Linked DNA regions of Homo sapiens: regions 1 and 3 are each linked to region 2. The links are contacts of gene promoters, found by promoter capture Hi-C in blood cells and fetal thymus (Javierre and others, 2016). All regions are on one chromosome and are shown on one strand. The core of a region is centred on a gene start or on the middle of the fragment in contact, and the rest is flanking DNA. Distances in the headings are between cores, read along the strand shown. Region 1 has its middle 17 kb from the start of CFLAR. Region 2 holds the start of ORC2 (origin recognition complex subunit 2). Region 3 overlaps CASP10 (caspase 10).

Region 1 (2,700 bases), core at 114-2,613, 140 kb before region 2:
CATATACCACATGGACCCCACCACCATTCCTACCCATTTTTCTGTGAAAATTTTCCAGAAATAAATTTCTGATCATGTGGCCAATCAACCCACTACAATCTCAACCAAGACTGCATATGCAAAACCACTTTGTTGTTTTAGATTTTGTCACTTTTTGGAATTATAATTTTGTTATGCCATTTATTCCCCTTAGCAAGAATAATTAATTGCCCTTAAAGGATAGTGGAAGGCGGAAAATAATGATGTAATGTTTAGAAATATTATAGCATTAGAAATAAATGCTCAGAAATATTAAATTAGTCTTTCCACCAGGATATAAAGGTCCATCTTCTGCTGAGAAGTCTATGAGAGGCCAAGTAATCATTTACGAGAGTAGCTGCGTAACACATTGGTTCGCTGCAGGCTCTCTTATTGGTTTTTGATACAGGTTTCACACAGGCTTCATTTGCCAATTGTGTTGTTTAGTTGGGAAGTAAAAGGTTCTTGAGATTGGGGTGGAGATGGGGAGAGGAACACTGATTGATTCCTGGCTTGGGACAGGCGATTGTTGCTATATTGCTATACTCTTACAGGAGTATTATCTCCTTTGTCAAAATATAGCCAAGATGTGAAATTGAAATAGTAATTCTCCTTACTTAAAAATTATTTATTTCTTTTTTTGAGACAGAGTTTTCACTTTTCTTGCCCAGGCTGGGGTGCAATGGCACAATCTCAGCTCACTGCAACCTCTGCCTCCCAGGTTCAATTGATTCTCCTGCCTCAGCCTCCCAAGCAGCTGGGATTACAGGCGTGTGCCACCACGCCTGGCTAACTTTTTGTCTTTAGAGACCATGTTTCACCATATTGGTCAGGCTGGTCTCGAACTCCTGACCCCAGGTAATCGTCCCGGCTCTGCCTCTCAAAGTGCTGGGATTACAGGCATGAGCCACCGCACCCGGCTCCTCCTTGCTTAAAAATTCTAATAAGTGGCTGGGCACAGTCGCTCACGCCTGTAATCCCAGCACTTTGGGAGGCTGAGGTGGGCGGATCACAAGGTCAGGAGTTCAAGACCAGCCTGGCCAACATGGTGAAGCCCCGTCTCTCCTAAAAAAAAAATACAAAAATTAGCCAGGCATGGTGGGGCGCGCCTGTAGTCCCAGCTACTCGGGAGGCTGAGGCAGGAGAATTGCTTGAACCTGGGAGGCAGAGGTTGCAGTGAGCCAAGATCATGCCACTGCACTCCAGCCTGAGCGACAGAGCAAGACTCCGTCTCAAAAAAAAAGTGGGGGAGGGGCTGGGTGCAGGGGCTCATGCCTGTAATCCCAGCACTTTGGGAGGCTGAGGCGGGCAGATCACGAGGTCAGGAGATTGAGACTATCCTGGCTAACAAGGTGAAACCTCGTACAAAAAATTAGCTGGGCGTGGTGGCGGGTGCCTGTAGTCCCAGCTACTCGGGAGGCTGAGGCAGTAGAATGGCATGAACTCGGGAGGCGGAGTTCGCAGTGAGCCAAGATCGTGCCACTGCATTCCAGCCTGGGTGACAGAGTGAGATTCCATCTCAAAAAAAAAAAAAAAAAAAATGGTGGTGTGCATTGATGGAAAAGTTACATATTATAAAACTCCTTCAAAACCTGTTGTGTGTTTATTTTCTCAGTTACTCTTTATCTGACTTTTCTTTTTCTTTTTTTTTTTTTTTTAAGAGATAGAGTCCTATTCTGTCACCCAGGCTGGAGTGCAGTGTTGGCATGCTATAACCTTGAAACCTTGAACTCCTGGGCTCAAGTGCTCCTCTCACCTCACCCCGGCCTCCCAAAGTGCTGGGATTACAGGCATGAACCACTGTCTGTGCCTGGGCTCCCTCGCTCCCTCCCTCCCTCCCTCCCTTTCCTTCCTTCCTTCCTTCTGATGGAATCTCTCTCTGTCACCCAGGCTGGAGTGCAGTGGCACAATCTCGGCTCACTGTAACCTCTGCCTCCCAGGTTCAAGCAATTCTCCTGTCTCAGCTTCCAGAATAGTTGGGATTACAGGCGCCTGCCACCATGCCCGGCTAATATTTGTATTTTTAGTAGAGACAGGGTTTCACTGTGTTAGCCAGGATGGTCTCAATCTTCTGACCTCGTGATCTGCCTGCCTCGGCCTCCTAAAGTGCTGGGATTACAGGTGTGAGCCACCGCACCCAACTGTGTTTCTTTCTTTTTTAAATGATTGACTTTATTTTTTTTTTTATTTTTTTTATTTTTTTTATTTTTATTTTTTTTTAATAGACAAGGTCTCACTATGTTGCCCAGGCTACAGTGCAGTGGCTAATCACAAGCAGATCCCACTACTGATCAGCACAGGAGTTTTTGACCTGCTCTATTTCTGATCTGGGCCAGTTCACCTCCCAGGTTCATCCCTCCTTGGTCAACCTGGTGGTCCCCGCTCCCCGGAGGTCACCAATGTTTTTTTTTGGTTTGTTTGTTTGAAATGGAGTCTCGCTCTGTCACCCAGGCTGGAGCGCAGTGGTGTGATCTTGGCTCCCGCAACCTCTGCCTCTTGGGTTCAAGTGATTCTCCTGTCTCAGGCTCCCAAGTAACTGGGATTACAGTCATGTGCTACCATACCCAGCAAGATCGACCTTAGATGGTCAACTAAAAGGGGAATTTATTGCTCCATAAAAGTTGATTTGGCCGGGCGCGGTGGCTCACGCCTGTAATCCCAGCACTTTGGGAGGCCGAGGCG
Region 2 (2,754 bases), core at 233-2,732:
TCAAGGCTATGATCATTTCTTTCTCAACTGGATTTCCTAAACAGCTCCCAAATCTTGTGACTCTATATCTTCCCTCCCAATCCTACCTCCTTTATCCAAAGATCTTTCAATACAAATCTGACCAGTGCCCTAAGGGCCAACTAAGCCCTTCATAATAACAGACCCAATGCTTGGCATTTTACACAGCTGTTACACGGATTTGGACCTTCTACCTGGAAAATTTTACCCCTCTTGGCCTGTTTTAAATCTATTCAACACAGGGGTTTCAGTTTAAACATCTCTTCCTCCTAGAAAATTGTTCCTGACTCCTTCTGGGCTTTTAATTAGCTACTCCTACCATGTGCTCCAATGCACTTCCCATATCATGGTATTTTTCTCAATATTGTCCGTTCAATATCTTCACGTGCTAGGTAACTACAGTGAATGCAGAGATCGTAGTTGTCTCGCTCGATAATGAATACTTATCTTCTGTTCGCAGAGTACTCTGTAGTTTTGTTTTGAGTAAGTGAATCCAAATGAAACAATACCCTGTTCTTAATACTGTATGGATCCCATCCAGGTTCATTCCTTTTCTTCCTCATTTTCTCTGTCTTGTCTTTTTTATATTTTGGATAGTTGAAGTCAATCATTTTCTCTGTCTATTCATTCTATTTCCCCAGCCTCTTCATCCCACTAGCCGTCCGATCCCATCTCCATATTCAGTGCTTCTCCTAACGTCTCTTCTTCTCCCTACCCCAAACCCTGGAGATGTACAAGATCCTACCTTTCACGCCAAATGAAGAAAATCTTTAAAAAAGAAATGCGAATCAATTTCCATTACCTTTTTCTTCAAAAGGTAGCTGGGAAACCAATGAACACTTTTTTTTTTTTTTTTTTTTTTTTTTGAGACGGAGTTTCGCTCTTGTTGCCCAGGCTGGAATGCAATGGCTCGATCTCGGCTCACTGCAACGTCCGCCTCCCGGGTTCAAGCGTTTCTCCTGCCTCAGCCTCCCGAGTAGCTAGTATTACAGGCATGCGCCACCACGCCCGGCTAATTTTGTATTTTTAGGAGAGACGGGGTTTCTCCATGTCGGTCAGACTGGTCTCGAGCTCCCGACCTCAGGTGATTCGCCCGCCTCGGCCTCCCAAGGTGCTGGGATTAGAGGCGTGAGACACTGCGCCCGACCCCAAAGAACACTTTTTAAAGATTGCTACAAGACAAACAGCTACCACTCAGCCAGCTACTGTGCAAACTTCCTCAGATCCAAACAACACTTCCTTTTCCCTTCCCCGGAAACGGAAAGAAGAAAGGAAAGGTAAGGCCCACAACTCAGGGCCCAAGAATCCGTTTTCCTCAGGTTTCCTGATGGGCGGGGCCGAATGGCCGGCGCCGACTGGACGGCAGAGCCGTCGCTCTTGGCCGACTCCTCTTCCTATTGGCTTCCTCGGGCACCGCCCCCTGAACAGGGCGGGAGATTCGGTGTGCCGCACGCAGGCTTCCCATCCCCCAGCTGGCCTCCGGTGCTCCTTACCTCCCCGGTGGTCGGGCGCGAATTACTGGAAATTGGCTTTTCCCGTTGGGGCCGAAGGTACCTTCCCTGCGGCGGCGACTCAGCGGGGTGTCGTTCGGCCGGCGTGACGCAGCCGGATCGGCGCCAGACGGAAACCTAGCGGTGAGTAGTGGGGTGTCGGGGCAGCCTGCCTCCCTTTTCTGCTTAGCTCGCGGCGTGTGAGGTGCGTCCAGGTGCACCCAGCCCCGCGTCGGAGCTTGGCCCCTAGCGTCCCAAGTCGCGCATCTCAGGACTTTCCCTCGGCACTTGGGGCATGGTCTTTGCGCCTCGCTGCCCCCCGCAGGCTGCCCGGGGGCTCGAGAACCCTTACTGGTGGAGCGCAGCCAACTGGCCAGAGGCTGGAGGCGCAGGCCAAAGTCCTTTAAGACTTGAGGTGAGAGGCTCACTCTGGGAGGACCTTTCGTTAGTCTGCCCCGCAGTTATAGGCCTTTTGTGCAAGGGACGCCTGATACTAACCTACCTGATTCCCAGCTTACGAAGCCCTCTGGTTGGAAAAGGAGAACTGTGAAGATGTGTAACGACAGTGGTAAAGTGCCCTGTGAGGTATGAAGAGGAAGAGATCGCGTCCCAGAACCACTGTAGCTAGAACCTTTGATGTCATCCCAGCCTGGAGGCACCAATGTGTCCTGCCAGCTAACTGATCGGTCACCTTGGAGCCATGCTTGGCTGTAAAATGTTGATAAGCCAGGCTCTTTTGGTAGAGCTTTTTAATTAAAAAGATGTTGAGACGTTACTTTTCATTTTACAATTGAAATCCTAATAGAATCATTACACTTTCCCGCAGTTAAATTGCAATCTGAAGAAAAATAGCACGGCCCTACACCGTTATATAAGGGCACTGCACGTTAAACGGACATCATCACTTATTGAGCAGTTTTTCTGTTAGATGTTGAATGAGTTAGAGATGTACAAGAGATCTGCATGGTTAAGTTGAAGTTTAAAGTAAAAATATCTCAGTGCACTGCAGTAAGGAGCTAAAAAAGAAAAAGGTTAAAGTAAAAATACCGATAATTGGGAGCATTCAGTGATGCTCTTTTATATATCAGGCACATCATTTCATTTAATCGTCAGGACTTTGGACAAAGTCACACAGTTATAAAGTATGGAGTGGAGATTGGAACTCAGGTTTCTCCAATATTAAAATTGGTGTTTAACCACTAATCTATCCAACCTTCTTTTTCAAAGGATTATGTTTTTAAAAATT
Region 3 (2,700 bases), core at 129-2,628, 240 kb before region 2:
GCCACCATGCCCAGGTAATTTTTGTATTTTTAGTAGAGACGGGGTTTCACTATGTTGGCCAGGATGGTCTTGATCTCTTGACCTTGTGATCCGCCCACCTCGTCCTCCCAAAGTGCTGGGATTACAGGCATGAGCCACCGCGCCCAGCCGATAATTTTTGTATTTTTGGTTGAGGTAGAGTTTCACCATGTTGGCCAGGCTGGTCTTGAACTCCTGACCTCAAGTGATTCGCCCACCTCAGCCTCCCAAAGTGCTAGGATTACAGGCATGAGCCACCATGCCTGTCCAAAACCATGTTTTTATACTCTAGTCTAAACCCCTTGGGGTATTTATGCCACATTATTTCTGAAGTCACATATTGAAAAACTGGGGATTCTGACTACTCTGCAACTCACTTTTACTGCACAATTGTGATCTGAATAAAATTTCAAAGATTCTTTTTTAAGTCCTAGAGCCCAGGACAAAGGATAAATCTCATTTGCACTAAAGATTAGACAGTTCCTTTCTTTCAGGATGCCACTCCCAGTATCAGAGGCAGAGAGTTCTCAAGATCCTGGCCCTAGTGTGGAATTAGCTAATTAATTCCAAGGTGAAATGCCAGATCCTGATTAAAATTCAGACTTCACCTGGTTTGGCTGGAGAAGCTCAATCATGACAGTTAAGAAAATGGAATATATATTTTAATATTGTCAAACCCAGGGTTTATGCAAAAGCATCTTCACTTTCATATTAGCAACATGAATGAAGAAAGCATACACAAGGATTTCATGAGACAACATAAATATCAAAGATTTTTTTCAGATGGTTCATTTCTGGAGTGATCTAATGCCTTCAAAAAAGGGAAATCTTTTGTAATTTTATTTCTGAATATAAAAATAATATACAAGCTGGCATGGTGGTACTTGGGTGGCTGAGGCAGGAGAATTCCTTGAGCCTGAGAGTTCAGGACAAGCCTGGGCAACACAGTGAGACCGCCATCTTTATATATATGTGAATATATATATGAGTGTGTGTATATATATATATACACTTAATATATAAGTATATATATATAAAGTATACTTATAAATAAAGTATATATATACACATATATATTCATATATATATAAAGATGGCTGATATATATTCATATGTATATAAAGATGGCTGTATATTCAATTTTTAAAATTCAATATATATATATATTCACAGTAGGAATTTAAAAACATGTGCAATTATTTTTTAAGGCTATTGTAAACAGCATGTGATTGCAAATTAGCTGAGCTGGCTTTAGCAGAGCCTCTGGGCAGCTAAAATCATCCTTGAAATCGTGGTACATCTTTATCCAAGCAGAAAACAAGTGGCTTCAATGGATAAGAAAAGAAACTACCCCTCTCCAGAAATAACCCAAAGGGTATGCATGACTCAAAGTGTAACAGCATTTCCTCCACAGTCAAAGGGATCAGTCACTTCTGATTGATACAGAAAAAGGTGGGAAGAACAGAGATAATTACAGAGAGAGGGAGAAACAAGTCTGAAACAAACAGCTCGGAGCCCTTAAAATCATCGAAGGCTGGACCCTAGGGAGAGAGCCCCTAAAGAAACCGTCCTTTTGATTAAATTTGGAAAAAAAATTTTTTTATTAAAAAAGGAATAAAAGAAACCATCCAGACCTTTGTGCTGGTTTCAGAGTTTAGAGTGTTAGCAGATGCTCCTTGCATCCCCCTGGAGACCAGGCTTGGTGCACCATTTGTGGCTCTGTTACCTAGAAAGAGAGGTACTCAGACTCCAAATATCTTCCCCAAGCACTTAGATTTCTTCACTGATAATTTTCGCATCTAATTCTGGAGAATTATGCTTCTCTCAAGGCCCTCCTGAGACAAATTCAGCCACCATGCCCTTCCTGATGGGAGAGACTGATGTGTCTTCGCATTCTTTTTTGCTTTGTCTGGGTTGGAAACTATGCTGCTGGCAGGGATTGGGTGGGGAATTAATTAAGATCCCATGGATCAGCTCAAGGCTTCCAGCTCAAGTATGGTTGGATTGAGTCAGCATTTATGTCACTGGATATAAAGAGGCTAGGTGGACCTCTTCCCTAGAGAAGGAAAAAGAGGGAGGCTGGGCGTGGTGGCTCATGCCTGTAATCCCAGCACTTTGGGAGGCCAAGACGGGCTGATCGCTTGAGCCCAGGAGTTCAAGACCAGCCTGGACAACTTAGTGAGACCCCATCTCTAGAAAAAAAAAATACAAAAAATTAGCTGGGCATGGTGACACATTGCCTGTAGTCCCAGCTTCCTGGGACGTTGAGGTGGGAGGATCACCTGAGTCCGAGGGGTCAAGGCTGCAGTGAGCTGTGATTACACCACTGCACTCCAGCCTAGGCAACAGAGTGAGGCCCTGTCTCAAAAAAAAAAAAAAGAAAAGAAAAGAAAAGAAAAAAGAGGGGAAAAAGAAAGTTCCAGTTGGGCATCGACTGAGGATCACACTGCTTTGAAGTGTTCCTGCCAACTCCCTGATTCCTCTGGAAAAGACTCTATCACAGAGAGAAAGTCAGCAATGCATTATTTGTCACATGGCACTAACAGGAAAATGTAACATCAAACAGTTTTCTTTTTCCACTCACAGGAAGTTTGTAGTAGAACCCACCAAACTCTGTCCTTGTCTCTGGGGCATGAGTTAGTTATTAACTACTGCTAAGGGTCAGTCCTCAGGCTGAGCAAG

The links. Contacts are between HindIII fragments. The CHiCAGO score rates a contact against its expected background, and 5 or more counts as called.
Region 1: a fragment that was not itself captured here is called in contact with the fragment with the promoter of ORC2 in region 2 in 5 of 17 cell types (neutrophils, erythroblasts, megakaryocytes and 2 more); the score reaches 9.2 in neutrophils.
Region 3: a contact is called between a fragment that was not itself captured here and the fragment with the promoter of ORC2 in region 2, in 5 of 17 cell types (neutrophils, monocytes, M1 macrophages and 2 more). The highest score is 12.9, in neutrophils.

The regions. Positions count from the first base shown.
Region 1 is chr2:201,097,631-201,100,330 of GRCh38, reverse strand. No RefSeq gene overlaps it. Among named protein-coding and RNA genes, the nearest start is that of CFLAR, 17 kb to the left of the region's middle. The HindIII fragment of the contact is 8,067 bases long and covers 1-2,700 here.
Region 2 is chr2:200,962,388-200,965,141 of GRCh38, reverse strand. It overlaps ORC2 (origin recognition complex subunit 2), which reads left to right and starts at 1,482. Exons shown (of 18, transcript NM_006190.5): 1 at 1,482-1,652. It overlaps LOC105373835 (a long non-coding RNA gene), which reads right to left and starts at 1,710. Exons shown (of 3, transcript NR_187976.1): 1 at 1,512-1,710. RefSeq lists a silencer at 1,073-1,471 and an enhancer at 2,180-2,249. The HindIII fragment of the contact is 10,169 bases long and covers 1-2,754 here.
Region 3 is chr2:201,204,926-201,207,625 of GRCh38, reverse strand. CASP10 (caspase 10) reads right to left here. Exons shown (of 10, transcript NM_032977.4): 7 at 1,653-1,744. Among named protein-coding and RNA genes, the nearest start is that of CASP10, 23 kb to the right of the region's middle. The HindIII fragment of the contact is 4,768 bases long and covers 1-2,700 here.